5 separate regions of the Homo sapiens genome follow, and regions 1, 2, 4 and 5 are each linked to region 3. The links are contacts of gene promoters, found by promoter capture Hi-C in blood cells and fetal thymus (Javierre and others, 2016). All regions are on one chromosome and are shown on one strand. The core of a region is centred on a gene start or on the middle of the fragment in contact, and the rest is flanking DNA. Distances in the headings are between cores, read along the strand shown.

Region 1 (2,700 bases), core at 162-2,661, 270 kb after region 3:
ATTTTCAGCAATAATCATGAATTGAAGTTTTCATATTGGCCCTCATAAAACAAAAATATTACAACTTGTAATTTGCCTTCTATCTCACTGCTTTTTTTTTTTTTTGATCACTGAAACCTCCGCCTCCTGGGTTCAAGTAGGTCTCATGCCTCAGCCTCCCGAGTAGCTGGGATTACATGCGTGCGCCACCATGCCCAGCTAATTTTTGTATTTTTAGTACAGACAGGGTTTCGCCATGTGGGCCAGGCAGGTCTTGAACTCTTGGCCTCAAGTGATCCTCCCACCGTGGCCTCCCAAAGTGCTGGGATTACAGGTGTGAGCCACCACACCCGGCCTCCTTTTCACTGTTTTGAATTTTTAACACAAATACAAAGTCCAAGTAGATAAGAGAAAAATAACTCAAGTTATTCCTTTGTCTTTGCAATCAGGGCACTATCATTGTGTCTTTTGAATCTACCTTTGAAAGGCAGAGATAACGTGGTTCTGTTAGTGGAAAAAAGGGTCTTGATCCAGAGCCCAGAGGGTTCTTGGATCTCGTGCAGGAAATAACTCAAGGCGAGTCACAGAGTGCAGTAAGAAGAAAGTTTATTGAAAGCTATCCTGTTACACAGGAGGGCGTCCTCAGAAAGCCAGCAGAGGACTGCCCCGGCTTTGTTTTAAGTTTTTCTCGTATAGGGGTCTTGTCGATGTAAAGGTTAAACTAAGCTGTTTCTACATGTGGGTGAGCAGACTGCATGAGAGAGTTTATTACTCTGTTGATTTAAAGAAAACTGTCCTTGACGTTTTAGTGTGTAAGTATTAATACATCAAGGTGTAACTATGATTATCTTCAGAGCATATGTTGATACGAGTATCGGGACATGTGGACTCTCCATTGTTGTCGGAGGGTGTCTTTGTAGGCATCTTTAGACTGTTTCCTCAACTGTAAACACACCATGACTATAGGCTGTGACCAGCAAGGAGTGTGCCTTTCTAGCTTTTTGTGTGTGTGTGCCTTTCTAGTTTTAAGATGGGAGTTGATTGGCCAGGTGCTGTGGCTCATACCTATAATCTCAGCACTTTGGGAGGCCGAGTCGGGAGGATTACTTAAGACCAGGAGTTGAGACCAGCCGGGCAACACGGGGAGACCCTATCTCTAAATTAAAAAACAAAACAAAACAAAAAGATGGAGTTGAGTGTAAAATGGTGTCACTCTGGCTCTCCCAAGCTCCTGCTTCCATAGCAGCTCCACACGAACGGAGGCACTGACCAGCCAGAAGTAAGAAACACATGGAGCTGAGTCTGCGGGTGTCGGGGGCCCACTGAATAACGAGTTTTCAGCTTTCATTTCTGCATAGGAGATAATGTTATTTATCTTTTTTTTTTTTTTTTTTTTTTTGAGACTGAGTCTCACTCTGTCGCCCAGGCTGGAGTGCAGTGGCGCGATCTCGGCTCACTGCAAGCTCCGCCTCCCGGGTTCACGCCATTCTCCTGCCTCAGCCTCCCGAGTAGCTGGGATTACAGGCGCCCGCCACCACGCCCGGCTAATTTTTTGTATTTTTAGTAGAGATGGGGTTTCACCGTGTTAGGATGGTCTCCATCTCCTGACCTCATGATCCACCTGCCTCGGCCTCCCAGAGTGCTGGGATTACAAGCGTGAGCCACCTTGCCCGGCCGATAATGTTATTTAAATGCTAAGTTATAAAAACAAGTTAAATTGAAGTTCACATTTTATTTATTTATTTATTTATTTTTGAGATGGAGTCTCACTCTGTCACCCAGGCTGGAGTGCAGTGGCCTAATCTCGGCTCACTGAAACCTCTGCCTCCTAGGTTCAAGTGATTCTCCTGCCTCAGCCTCCTGAGTAGCTGAGATTACAGGCGTGCACTACCATGCCTGGCTAATTTTTGTATTTTTAGTAGAGATGGGGTTTCACCATGTTGGCCAGGCTGGTCTCGAACTCTTAACCTCGGGTGATCCACCTGCCTTGGCCTCCCAAAGTGCTGGGATTACAGGCGTGAGCCACTGTGCCCGGCCGAAGTTCACATATAATTAAAACTCAGTGGTAATGACAGCATTTATTTAGATTTAGAACTTAGACCAATAAAATACTTTTTCAGGGAGGAATGTTTTATCACTGACATTGTTTAGGATTGCTGGCCCAGGGGATAACAAAGAACTTTCGGTTGCTTACTCATTTACAATTCTCTAAGGACAATGCAGCCTCTATTCCCTGCCTTGGCGGTGGTGGGGAAACGGTTTTCACTACCCTGCTATTGCCTACCACTGATAAGAGGCCTACCTTTTTTTATAAAGTGGCGGAAGGGTGACTCGTGTCAAAAGGCTGGCGGGATGCCAGCATGAGTCCTTGGCCCCTCTCCTACTTCGTTCCTATCCTGTCCTGTTCTCCATCTTGCTGTTTGGACAGATGTTGCCATCCTGGACCTTGAGGCTGAGAGACTTGTCCGAGGGGTGGCACACCAGAAGGAGCCTAGGACCCTGGCACTTCATCAGCACTCCATGGAAAGTGCTCCGTCTTCAGACTATGTGAGGGAGAAATAAGATCTCATCTTTTCTGGGGTCTCACTCTCCCACCCAGGCTGAAGTGCGGTGGTGAGATCTCGGCTCACTGTAACCTCCGCCTCCTGGGTTCAAGCAATTCTCCTGCCTCAGCCTCCCGAGTGGCTGGGATTACAGGCGCCTGCCACCACGCCCAGCTAA
Region 2 (2,700 bases), core at 1-2,500, 340 kb before region 3:
TTTCCACTAGGCATGAGAAGAGTCAAACTCTCAACCAGAACACCCAGGAATGACAGTGGGAAAGGAGATAGGGGCCCTACAGTCTCACAGTCCTCATCTGGTCCCCCCAAAACGCACCTCTCTTTAACCTCCAGCTTGACATAAGCATGAGCCAGCCCATTGCCTGTCTTACAGAGCAGAGAAAGCCCTTCCTTCATCATGTCCTCCGTGAGGGGGGTGGGCAGCCACTGCAGGTAGAAGTGGAGTAAGGTGTCTCTCCCCTGCCCAACCCCCTCCTTCAGCCCTAGGACCCCTCCTTGTCCAGGCTCTCACTTCCTCAGGGAACTCTTCCCCCTCTTTTCTGTAGTCCTCCCCCTCCTCTGTCTCCTTCTCGTCCTCTTCTTTCTCAGAATCATCCTGGTCTGGCTCAGAGTCTTCTAGATCATCTTCATCTGACATCTTTCTTCCCTCCTGAAAGCTCTGGAGTCAGATAAGCTCAGTCCTCCTCCTGAAAAAGAAGGTCTCATCAGCTTCTGCCAGCCTTCAGCTCCTTCATCGTCATTGACACGTGCCACTCCCATCACCCCCATGACTTCTGACCCACCAACTCTAGGCTTCTTTCCTTATCCCTGTGAACATCTCATTTTGATTCTCAACTCCCACTTCACACTTTCCACTGAGGACCCCCTCCCTTCAGGATGTCACCCACACCCCCAGGCCTTTCCTGTCCTTCACAGTGACTCCAGCTCTCCTCCAGCAGCCGGGTGTCCCTATTTCCTGGGCTTCCCTCTCCCCCATTCTTCCCACCTCCCCCTTAAGCCATGCTCTCCAATCTTCCCTACCAATTCCTCCTCCTCTCCTCTCAGCTCCCATTGCGCCATCCGTAATCCCTGCTCCATTCATTTCTTCTACTTTTCCCTCCCCACTGGGCCAATTTCCTTGGGCCCTCTGGTACACCAGCCTAAAGCGCAGTCTCCAACCCTCCCACTCAATTCGCCTTAGCAAAGGGGCTCAGACCCTGTTTCTGCTCAATCAGAAGCAGTTCTGGAGAGGCCCTTGGTCCCGAGAGGGAAGGACTGTTTAGCAAGCGGGCGAGGGGAAGGAGGGGTTGTGTACTGCTGTTATGGCAACGGGGACGGGGCACTTGGCAACTGCAGCTCGCCACCGTTGAGAGTAGAGCGGCGACTACCTGATGCGCAAATCAGCCGGGGAGGGGATTGATCAGTAGTTGCCTGGTTACCACGCCACTTTCCCGTCCCGGGAACCCGGATGAGGCGCGGAAGGGGCGTTGGGCCGCTAATTGGCTGAGGACAAAAAGAAGTGGGCAGGGCTGAGAAGCGAGAAGAGAGGGGGCGGGGCTAGTCATTACGTCACCCAAGACCTTAAAGGGACCGGACATCTTCAATGCAAAAGTATTGTGAATTCAGGAAAAACTCGTCCTTCGAAGCAAAAAGGGCGGGGCTGCGAGGAAAAGCAAGAAACACCAAGATAAGGGGTCTTTTCCCCTTCCCCCTATAGTTTCTGCTCATTAGTTATTTTCAGGTAGACCTTTGGAAGGTGGCTTGGTGGAGCGGAAGGAGTCCAGACCCAGATACCTTAAGAACTGGGTTGGAGTCTTGGCAGATCTGCATTTGCTAGCTAAACGTACCCAAGACTCTTTGTTATCTGTAGAATTAGCTTAACTATATCAACTGACAGGGATCCAGTATGAGTTATCCTGGACTGGTTTGATGCAAACCTTTTAGTGGGTGGAAGGCAGAAAATTCAACATCTGCCCACTAAAATACTCCTGATCCAACGTTGTTATATCAGTAATCAACAGGAACTGGCATAGCCAAACCCAGGCACTCAGGCCTGTCTGACATGTTGAAGGAGATGAAAAAGATGTTGAGATGCAATAAATATTTCTGGAGAGTTTGTGCGAGACATTATGTCAAACATCTTTACAACTGATATTTAATCTCTGCAACAGTCCTGTAAGATAGACATTTGAAAGAAGAGGATACTGAGGCTCAGGGAGGTTAAGATGACACAATTCCTGCCTGGGGAAAGGGGGATGTTACCAATCTTGTTGTGGAATCTAATGTAAATGAAACAATGAGGTAACCAGGTAAGATGGCATGTGATTCATTGTTAAATTGTGCCCACAGACTTTATATAACGGCAAAGTGGTCTGGTGGAAGATGTGGTGGGCAAGAAATCAGGAAGTATTATATTACCTCCTGCCCAGGGCAGCTTGGAGGAATGTGGTTAATAGGCAAATCTGTTTACTTGGTGTCATGGAACCAGTAGGGACTTTAAAGTCAGAGACACCAGCTTCAAAACCCATCTCTACTACTTAATACCTGTGTGTCCTTCAGCAGGTTATGAAATCTTACTGAGGTCTAATTTCCACAGTCGTGAAATGGGGATTATTAAAACGTCCACCTGTAAGGATTGTTAAGGGATTAAAAGAGATAATGTGGGTAAATCGCCTTGCACTTAGTTGACCCTTAGTAAACATTTTCCTGCTCCTCCCCACCCCTGGCCTGTGTCCTTGGTACTGGGGTTGCTGTGAGGAAAAAGAAATAATAAATATGAACACTCTGAAGAGTGAGATGTGCTATACAAATGAAAGTTATTGTATTGTTGGAGTGTGGAGAAGGGAAAAATCCATGTGGTTTGATGTAGTCAAAAGAAATGGATATGAGTTTCCTTGGCCAAGAAGAAAGAGGAAGACAC
Region 3 (2,713 bases), core at 152-2,651:
AATTGGGATGCAATTTGTGGAAGAACACAGCCTCAATCCCACACCCCCGGAGGCCCGACCTAACGTCCTCCAACCTTGAAACCCTTGTAGTTCACCCCTTCTCATGTCCCAGACCAGGTCAGCCTTGCAACCCGTTGTTTCCCAACTAATTGTAGACCCACCTGAAAGCGAGTTCCGGCGAAGAGGCCCCCTGCGAATGAGGTGCAGTGCAGCACCTTAATTGAGGGGCTGAGCAGGGGTCAGCATCAAGGAAGGTGCTGGGAGGGCGGGGCACGGTGGCTCACAGCCTGTAATCTCAGCACAAAGGTGGGGGCAGGAGGATCGCTTAAGCCCAGGAGTTCTAGACCAGCCCTGGCAATATAGTGAGACGCCACCCCCTACAACCCGTCTCTATAAAAAGATTTTTAAAAAAGGGGCAAAGAGGAGGAGGTAAGTGGCATGGAATTCCACGGTTTTTTTTGTTTGTTTGTTTTGAGATGGAGTCTCGCTTTGTTGCCAGGCTGGAGTACAGTGGCGCGATCTCAGCTCACTGCAACCTCCCCCTCCCGGGTTCAAGCGATTCTCCTGCCTCAGCCTCCCGAGTAGCTGGGACTACACGCGTGCGCCAGCCACCATGCCCAACTAATTTTTGTATTTTTAATAGAGACAAGGTTGGCCAAGATGGTCTCGGATTTCTTGACCTCGTGATCCGCCCGCCTCGACCTCCCAAAGTGCTGGGATTACAGGCGTGAGCCACCGAGCCCGGCTGGTTTTTTTGTTTTTTTTTTTTGAGGTGGAGTTTCGCTCTTGGTGAGGCTTAAGTGGCACGATCTCGGCTTACTGCAACCTCCGCCTCCCGGGCTCAAGCAATTCTGCCTCAGCCTCTCGAGTAGCTGGGATTATAGGCGCCCGCCACCACGCCCGGCTAATTTTGTATTTTTAGTAGAAGCAGGGTTTCACCATATTGGCCAGGCTGGTCTCGAACTCCTGACCTCAAGTGATCCACCCACCTCAGCCTCCCAAAGTGCTGGGATTACAGGCGTGAGCCACTGCGCCCAGCCTGGAATTCCGTGATCTTGACGCTGGACTAGGGCAGTGGATGCGAGGGAGAGGGCTCCAATGTCGGGCCCTGGTTCGAGGAGAAGGTGCGGCTTTCACCCAACAGAAACCGGCCGTGAGGCTAAAAGCCAACTCCATGAGGGAAGGTCGGTCAAGCTCAATGGTTTCGTCACATTGCTCCCTCCACCCGCCGCGGGTGTAAGCTGCGCGTCTCCTTCGAATTGCCCCCTACTCGCCGCCGCCGGCTCCGCTGGCGTTCCCAGGGCGAGCGTAAGTTCCGGGTGCGGCGGCCGACTAGGCGCAACAGGAAGAGGCGGGGCCGCGAGGCTAGCGCTACCCGTGCGCCTGCGTGGAACGATTCTGTGGCGAGTGCCGGCCGAAAGCTAGGTCCGGATTGCACGTGGAGGGCCGCCCGAAGGGCACTCTCGGACATTAACCCGCATTCTGGTGGGTCTAGAGGAAATTGGGGGACGAAGAGTGGCAGCACTGACCTGGTCTGGGACGTGGGGAGAAGGGTGCGCTACCTGGGTTTCAGGTGGGAGGGCGTTCGGTCGGGCCTCCAGGGGGATAGCGGGGGTGCTTGAGTCGCGGGTGCTGAGTCGGGAGTGCTGAGTGAGTTGCGGGTGCTGAGTTGAGGCTGTGCCCTTTCCCACTATAATACGCCAAGCGTGCGTTCTGCCGTTCCCTCCGACACGCGCGACGCCACCTTCTCCCATTTCTGCCTGCCACAGTACCATGGGGCGCAAGTTGGACCCTACGAAGGAGAAGCGGGGGCCAGGCCGAAAGGCCCGGAAGCAGAAGGGTGCCGAGACAGAACTCGTCAGATTCTTGCCTGCAGGTAAGGATTAGTTGTGGCCTCCTGATCCCTCAGCTTTTGCAGTATTCTGTATTATAACCTCTTCTCTTTTTTAGTTTCTGTTCATTTTATATTTAAGTGGAATCTTCTCTGTATGAGTTACTAGGAGGTATGAATGAAACAGCCGTTTAGATTGTAGGGAACTGTTTAGGTCGTAGAGATGTGAAGACACGGACACAACTATTATTCATGCAAGGGAAAAGTGTGATTTAAAACAATTGTGAGTTCAGAGGAAGGGGGAGCCCATGCAGAACTGTAAAAGTTTTTGTTAAGCTGGGTTTTGAAAAATGGGTAACATTGTAGCAAGAGGAAGTAGTGAAGGGGAGGGGTCAGTCACTGATTTGCCTTTTGGAAGGGGTGGAAATGGAAAAGCACGGATCTGGCTGCTTCATGCCGAGTAGTAGTATACTGTGTGGAAGACTGGTGGGAGGTAACACTGGACCGGGAGTTTGTGTTGGGCATTGGATAAAGGATGCAGTTTATTGAGATAGTAGGAAGTCCTGGGCACTGTATTAAACTTGTTGGTCATGTTATATCGCTTAATCATCTTAGAGTCCTGTGAGAGAGGCACTATTAAGGAAACACTTTGGGAGGCCGAGGCAGGTGGATCACCTGAGGTCCAGTGTTCGAGACCAGCCTGGCCAACATGGTGAAACCCTGTCTTTACTAAAAATACAACAATTAGCTGGGTGTGGTGATGGGAGGCTGAGGCAATAGAATCGCTTGAATCTGGGAGAAGGAGGTTGCAGTGAGTTGAGATCACGCCATTGCACTCCAGCCTGGAAGACAAGAGTGAAACTCCATTTCAAAAAAAAAAAA
Region 4 (2,812 bases), core at 252-2,751, 270 kb before region 3:
TGCTATCTTTTTTTAAAAAGTTAAAAGCAATTTTTTTTATATTAAGAAGAGATCTCACTATGTTGCCCAGGCTGGTCTCAAACTCCTGAGCTCAAGTGATCCTTTCACGTCAGTCTCCCAAAGGGCTGGGATTACAGGCGTGAACCACTGCGCCCGGCCTGCTTTGTTATCTTGGGCAAGTTGCTTCACCTCCCTGAGTCTGTTTACTCAAGGTGTAAAATGAGGCTTATCATAGCACCTACCTTACAGAGATATCATGAAAATTCAATGAAATCAGGTATTTATGCAGCTTAGCCCAGTATCTGGCTCATAAAAAGTGTTCACTATTAACATATTTAATCCAATCTAAGATGCATCACTAAGAAAGAAAAGATGCTGTCAATTCTAATTGAAACAATGATCCATTGCTGAATGCACCTTGATTTCAGAGATGTCAAAATGTGAAGAAATGTGCATCTTAGAATTGACAAAATACAGCATAGAAAACTAGCAGCTAGAGTCTACAAGGGCTTTATAATTTACAAAGTACTATCGCTTCTTCATCTTCAAGGCCCTGGGAGGGGGCTGTGGTCACTCTTGTTCTACGGATGAGAATAGGAACCGTGTCCGCATCTTTCGCATCCAATATGGTGCCTGGCTCAGAGCAGGTCCCGCTAAAATGTTGGTCGAATGAATTAATTAATGGGTTTCCTCACTCCAAGGACGTGCTGTACTAATGCTCGGAGCAACGCGCTATTGCGGGTCGGGGAGCTCCCTTCCCCTCCCCCCATGCCCTGCCTTCCGGGGGACAGGGGGTCTTACCTCTGCCAGAGTAACGTCAGCACAGGCTTTCCTGGCATCCTGCAGGGAAAGCAGACATCAGGGGAGCAAGGGCGAGGTGGGGGTGGCAGGTGCATGGGCCTTCAGGGCAGGTTGGTCTTGGGGCTCTGGGGCTTGGGGGTCTCAAATATGCGAACCAAGTTTAGAAAGTCCCTGGTCACTTCTAGTCACTCAAGAGCAAACCCAGCCCCCTCCCCCTGGGCCACGCTCCTCATGTCCCCAGCTGTTTTCTGGGGCCCCAGGGGTAGGGCTCTGGAGTTACTGCAATCTGCTTCTTGAGCTGCTCCGCTTCCTGACGCAGTTGCTCCATCTCCCCCATGGCTGACAGGTCGAGGGGTCACTCTGGCTCCTGCCAGGAACATGGGGTCGGTGTTGAGGAACCCCCCACCAGGCTGTGCTTCTGCCCTTCGTGCCCACACCAGACTCCAAGACACAGGGAAACGACTGGGTGGCTGCACCCTCTCCCCAGCTAGGCCCTCCAAGTTTGAGGTCCTTTGCGTCCAGCCCCAGCCTGCCTGAGCCCTGCCTGCGCCCCAGCCCAGGAGAGCAGAGCCCAGGCCAGCTCCCTCTTACTTGGGCTCTGGCTGGACCTCGGCCGGGTTTCCAGCTCCGGTTCCTGGGAGCCTCCTTACTCCCTCAGCTGCGACGCCCGCGCCCGCCCGTCACCTGCCCAGGCTCTGCTGCCAGAGGAGCTGGCCTGGCCTGGCCTGGCCCCGACCGGCGGGGGGTTGGGGGGGCCTGACAGGGAAGGGTAGAGCCAACCACAACGTCAGGCAAATGAAATCAGCTGGCAGGGGTGGGGGGAAGGGGTGGGGGGAGGGAGGGAGGTGTACGGATTCCAGAGAGACTTGGGCCCAGCCGGGAGGAGGGTTGGGGGCAGGAGTGTGGGGCCATAGAGAGGGGCAGCCCCCACCACAAGCCCTGAGAGAGGAGGGGGTGAAGGGGTGCTTCCCTGGTCAGTCTCTGCAGGCAGAGATAAGAGCATCAGGCCCCACAGGATTAGAGCAAAGCTGTGAGGATTAAGGGTTGGGGTTTGGGAGGGGTGCAAAGGAGCAGACAACTACAGCTCCAGTGGCCCCCCTGGTCCCGGCCCCCATCCATGGTGATGATCTTGGCAGTCAGGGCCACTTAGCAACCAGGCCAGGAGGTGGGATATAAGGGTGATAGATGGCCCCATTGTCAGTACCTCAAACTGTGCTCCTCAGCTCAGGGTGGTGGGGAAGAGGGTTTGGTGAGTATGGGAGGGTACAGGCAGGAGCTGAGATTAGAAAGGACTGATCTGGATAATCCTTCTTCTCGACAAACCCCAACCAGCTGCCTCTGGGTCTGATCCTGTTGGGGGAGAAAGGTACAGGGGACCCACAGAGAAGGATGGACAGGTCTGCCCCTATTGTGGGCGGGCAACGGATTTCAAGTGGAGGGAAGGCCCGCACGCTGCTCCCAGGCTGGGGTCTGGCCCCCTCCTTGCCCTCTCGAGGCTGTGAAAGCAGGGGTCAGAGAGAAAGCAGGCGGCCCTAAGTCTCAGCAAAGCTCAGAGAGGGAAGACAGGGCTTACACTTGGAGGCCTAAGGAGCAGCTGCCAGGGGCTTGGGTCATTTGCATGAGGGGAGCAGGTGGCTGAGATTTCCCTGACAAATCACAGGCTCCAGGCGCCCCGCCTCTGGGAGGCCCAAAGACACCTGTCTCCTCCCAGGCCAGCCAGAGCCACCCCCACCTCCAGCCATCACAGAATCTGTGATACACTTGACTGGCCCCTGGCTGAGAGATCTTCACGACCTTTATTGCACAGACTGGGAGAGAGGAGCAGGGTTATACCTCCCAACCCCACCATCCTCTTCATTTAAAGCATCAGCCTCCTCCCCTGCCATTTCTGTTCAGGGAGGCACAGTGTTCCCCATCTGTCCAGGGCTGCAGGTCCGGCAGCGGGGCCCCGTCCCAGCTCCCCAGGCCTGGTGAGCTCCAGGCTAGCCTGTGCACTGTCCTCTGAGTCCAG
Region 5 (2,700 bases), core at 201-2,700, 320 kb before region 3:
TCTTTTTTCTTTTCTTTTCTTTTCTTTTTTTTTTTTAAAAAAACAACTTTAGACTTTAGATATATGTGGGGAAAAGCAAAAGAGATCAGATTGTTACTGTGTCTGTGTAGAAAGAAGTAGACATAGGAGACTCCATTTTGTTCTGTACTAAGAAAAATTCTTCTGCCTTGAGATTCTGTTAATCTATAACCTTACCCCCAACCCCGTGCTCTCTGAAACATGTGCTGTGTCAACTCAGAGTTAAATGGATTAAGGGCGGTGCAAGATGTGCTTTGTTAAACAGATGCTTGAAGGCAGCATGCTCCTTAAGAGTCATCACCACTCCCTAATCTCAAGTACCCAGGGACACAAACACTGCGGAAGTCCGCAGGGACCTCTGCCTAGGAAAGCCAGGTATTGTCCAAGGTTTCTCCCCATATGATAGTCTGAAATATGGCCTCGTGGGAAGGGAAAGACCTGACCATCCCCCATCCCGACACCCGTAAAGGTTCTGTGCTGAGGAGGATTAGTAAAAGAGGAAGGAATGCCTCTTGCAGTTGAGACAAGAGGAAGGCATCTGTCACCTGCCTGTCCCTGGGCAATGGAATGTCTTGGTATAAAACCCGATTGTATGCTCCATCTACTGAGATAGGGAAAAACCGCCTTAGGGCTGGAGGTGGGACCTGCGGGCAGCAATACTGCTTTGTAAAGCATTGAGATGTTTATGTGTATGCATATCTAAAAGCACAGCACTTAATCCTTTACATTGTCTATGATGCAAAGACCTTTGTTCACGTGTTTGTCTGCTGACCCTCTCCCCACAATTGTCTTGTGACCCTGACACATCCCCCTCTTCGAGAAACACCCACAAATGATTAATAAATACTAAGGGAACTCAGAGGCTGGCAGGATCCTCCATATGCTGAACGCTGCTTCCCCGGGTCCCCTTATTTCTTTCTCTATACTTTGTGTCTTTTTCTTTCCCAAGTCTCTCGTCCCACCTTACGAGAAACACCCACAGGTGTGGAGGGGCAACCCACCCCTACAGATATATTTAGGGCTGTTTGCATATGTTTATAGAGTATTTAGTTTACTCTAAAAGATGACAAGACAGCTCCCCTCAGTGAGACCCTGGCCTAAATATATTTGCTTTATTTATATAGCAAGAGGATAACATTAAACGTGGAAGCTTTCAATTTGTGGCACTGAATGATGATCTACACAGGGCATCCTTCAAAGGCTACAATTAAGGATCCACTGGCCAGGCATGCTGGCTCACGCCTGTAATCCCAGCACTTTGGGAGGCCAAGGAGGGCAAATCACGAGGTCAGGAGTTCGAGACCAGCCTGACCAATATGGTGAAACCCTGACTCTACTAAGAATACAAAAATTAGCCAGGTGTGGTGGCGCACGCTATAATCCCAGCTACTCAGGAGGCTGGGCAGGAAAATCACTTGAACCCGGGAGGCAGAGGTTGCAGTGAGCCGAGATCCTGTCACTGCACTCCAGCCTGGGCGACAGATCAAGACTCCATCTCAAAAAAAAAAAAAAAGGATCCACCTAACTTTTCAGCAGTACAAGCCCGATTGAGATCTTCTGGTCCGTTTGTTTGCCATTCATGTTTTATGCCTTGAAATTTCTTTTTGATTGCATCCTTGGAGCTTGTATAGATCATTTTACTTTTCAAAGGTGCTAGTTCTGATGCCCACAAGAAAACATCAATTCTTCTGGATTCTTTTGTTTCAAAGCTTGCATCATACAAAGCATAGCAACAATCTTTTTCAGGAAGCATTCCCACAAAATGCTTGAAAGGCTCACTTATAGTTACACCAACATCTCCAACCAAGATCTCTTTGCCTTCTACATGATGCACTTTTTGTCTGCACTGAGACAAAAAAATGACAGCCTTTGTTCTTTTCTTGATTTCTTCTGGTGTGGAGCATTTACGAACTCTCATGTCATAAAAAATGCGACACACTTCATCAGCAACTTGCACTCCTGAGGCACGTTGTTCAGAGTTCTGCTCTGCCGAGCTTCCAGTCTTTACATTCAATTTCCTATCTCACATCTCCAGTTGTATGTCTCAAAGGCATCTGATGCACAACAGGTCATCTTCGCCCACCACCACAGGGACGCGGGGGAGGGAGCCGGCGGGTAGTGAGTCTGGGCAGCGTCCTCCTCGTGGCTGCGGGACTGAGAGGGCGGGTAGTGAGTCTGGGCAGCGTCCTCCTCATGGCTGCGGGACCGAGAGACCCAGCGCGAAGCTGATGCAGCGGCTCGAGCCTACCCGTTTTTTTTTTTTTTAAGCGTCCTCTTCTACAGCTTCCTTGGCTCTTTGTGCCTATATGCCGAAGAGCTGGGCATTTGCATGGGCCATACAGAGACTAACAAGGCCTGGAAGTTTTCCTCCTAGTCAGCGATGACTCTGGCTTTCTCCTTGTAGACATTGCCGATGGGCATTTCTGGTCCTGTCAGCTGAGTATCCAGTTCGAGTTCTTCAGCAGAACTGTCTCCCTTCTTGGGGGCCAAGGGCTTCCTGGGGAAGAGGATGAGTGAGGAGCGGTCCTCCTTCAGCCTCTGCACCTTGGCCTGCAGGGCCTGGGTGGACTGGTTCCTCCTCCTTGCATCCTCAGAGATGCCAATGGTCTGGGCCACCTTCTTGTAAATGCCAGCCACCCTTAACTCCTCCAAGCTGAGGCCCCTGCCAGCTTGTGCTTTGTA

The links. Contacts are between HindIII fragments. The CHiCAGO score rates a contact against its expected background, and 5 or more counts as called.
Region 1: a contact is called between a fragment that was not itself captured here and the fragment with the promoter of NOP2 in region 3, in 1 of 17 cell types (non-activated CD4 T cells). The highest score is 6.1, in non-activated CD4 T cells.
Region 2: the fragment with the promoter of LRRC23 here is called in contact with the fragment with the promoter of NOP2 in region 3 in 10 of 17 cell types (non-activated CD4 T cells, activated CD4 T cells, naive CD4 T cells and 7 more); the score reaches 12.8 in non-activated CD4 T cells.
Region 4: a contact is called between the fragment with the promoter of GNB3 here and the fragment with the promoter of NOP2 in region 3, in 14 of 17 cell types (naive CD4 T cells, activated CD4 T cells, total CD4 T cells and 11 more). The highest score is 24.0, in naive CD4 T cells.
Region 5: a fragment that was not itself captured here is called in contact with the fragment with the promoter of NOP2 in region 3 in 3 of 17 cell types (activated CD4 T cells, non-activated CD4 T cells and naive CD4 T cells); the score reaches 8.9 in activated CD4 T cells.

Annotation. Positions count from the first base shown.
Region 1 is chr12:6,295,888-6,298,587 of GRCh38, reverse strand. No RefSeq gene overlaps it. Among named protein-coding and RNA genes, the nearest start is that of PLEKHG6, 13 kb to the left of the region's middle. RefSeq lists an enhancer at 2,435-2,700. The HindIII fragment of the contact is 3,241 bases long and covers 1-2,700 here.
Region 2 is chr12:6,903,372-6,906,071 of GRCh38, reverse strand. LRRC23 (leucine rich repeat containing 23) reads right to left here and starts at 1,250. Exons shown (of 8, transcript NM_001135217.2): 1 at 997-1,250; 2 at 313-487; 3 at 118-227. The coding sequence starts at 438. The HindIII fragment of the contact is 20,869 bases long and covers 1-2,700 here.
Region 3 is chr12:6,566,979-6,569,691 of GRCh38, reverse strand. NOP2 (NOP2 nucleolar protein) reads left to right here and starts at 1,401. Exons shown (of 16, transcript NM_001258308.2): 1 at 1,401-1,485; 2 at 1,770-1,876. The coding sequence starts at 1,774. CHD4-AS1 (CHD4 antisense RNA 1) reads right to left here and starts at 1,321. Exons shown (of 3, transcript NR_199067.1): 1 at 162-1,321. RefSeq lists enhancers at 1,057-1,106, 930-1,551. The HindIII fragment of the contact is 18,468 bases long and covers 1-2,713 here.
Region 4 is chr12:6,839,614-6,842,425 of GRCh38, reverse strand. GNB3 (G protein subunit beta 3) reads right to left here and starts at 1,501. Exons shown (of 10, transcript NM_002075.4): 1 at 1,393-1,501; 2 at 1,082-1,168; 3 at 802-840. The coding sequence starts at 1,138. It overlaps P3H3 (prolyl 3-hydroxylase 3), which reads right to left. Exons shown (of 15, transcript NM_014262.5): 15 at 2,579-2,812. The HindIII fragment of the contact is 12,557 bases long and covers 1-2,812 here.
Region 5 is chr12:6,884,186-6,886,885 of GRCh38, reverse strand. The region is part of intron 1 of LOC105369632 (a long non-coding RNA gene); the gene reads left to right. It also overlaps the pseudogene RPL13P5 and the pseudogene DSTNP2. Among named protein-coding and RNA genes, the nearest start is that of SPSB2, 12 kb to the right of the region's middle. RefSeq lists enhancers at 185-732, 2,379-2,700. The HindIII fragment of the contact is 559 bases long and covers 1,171-1,729 here.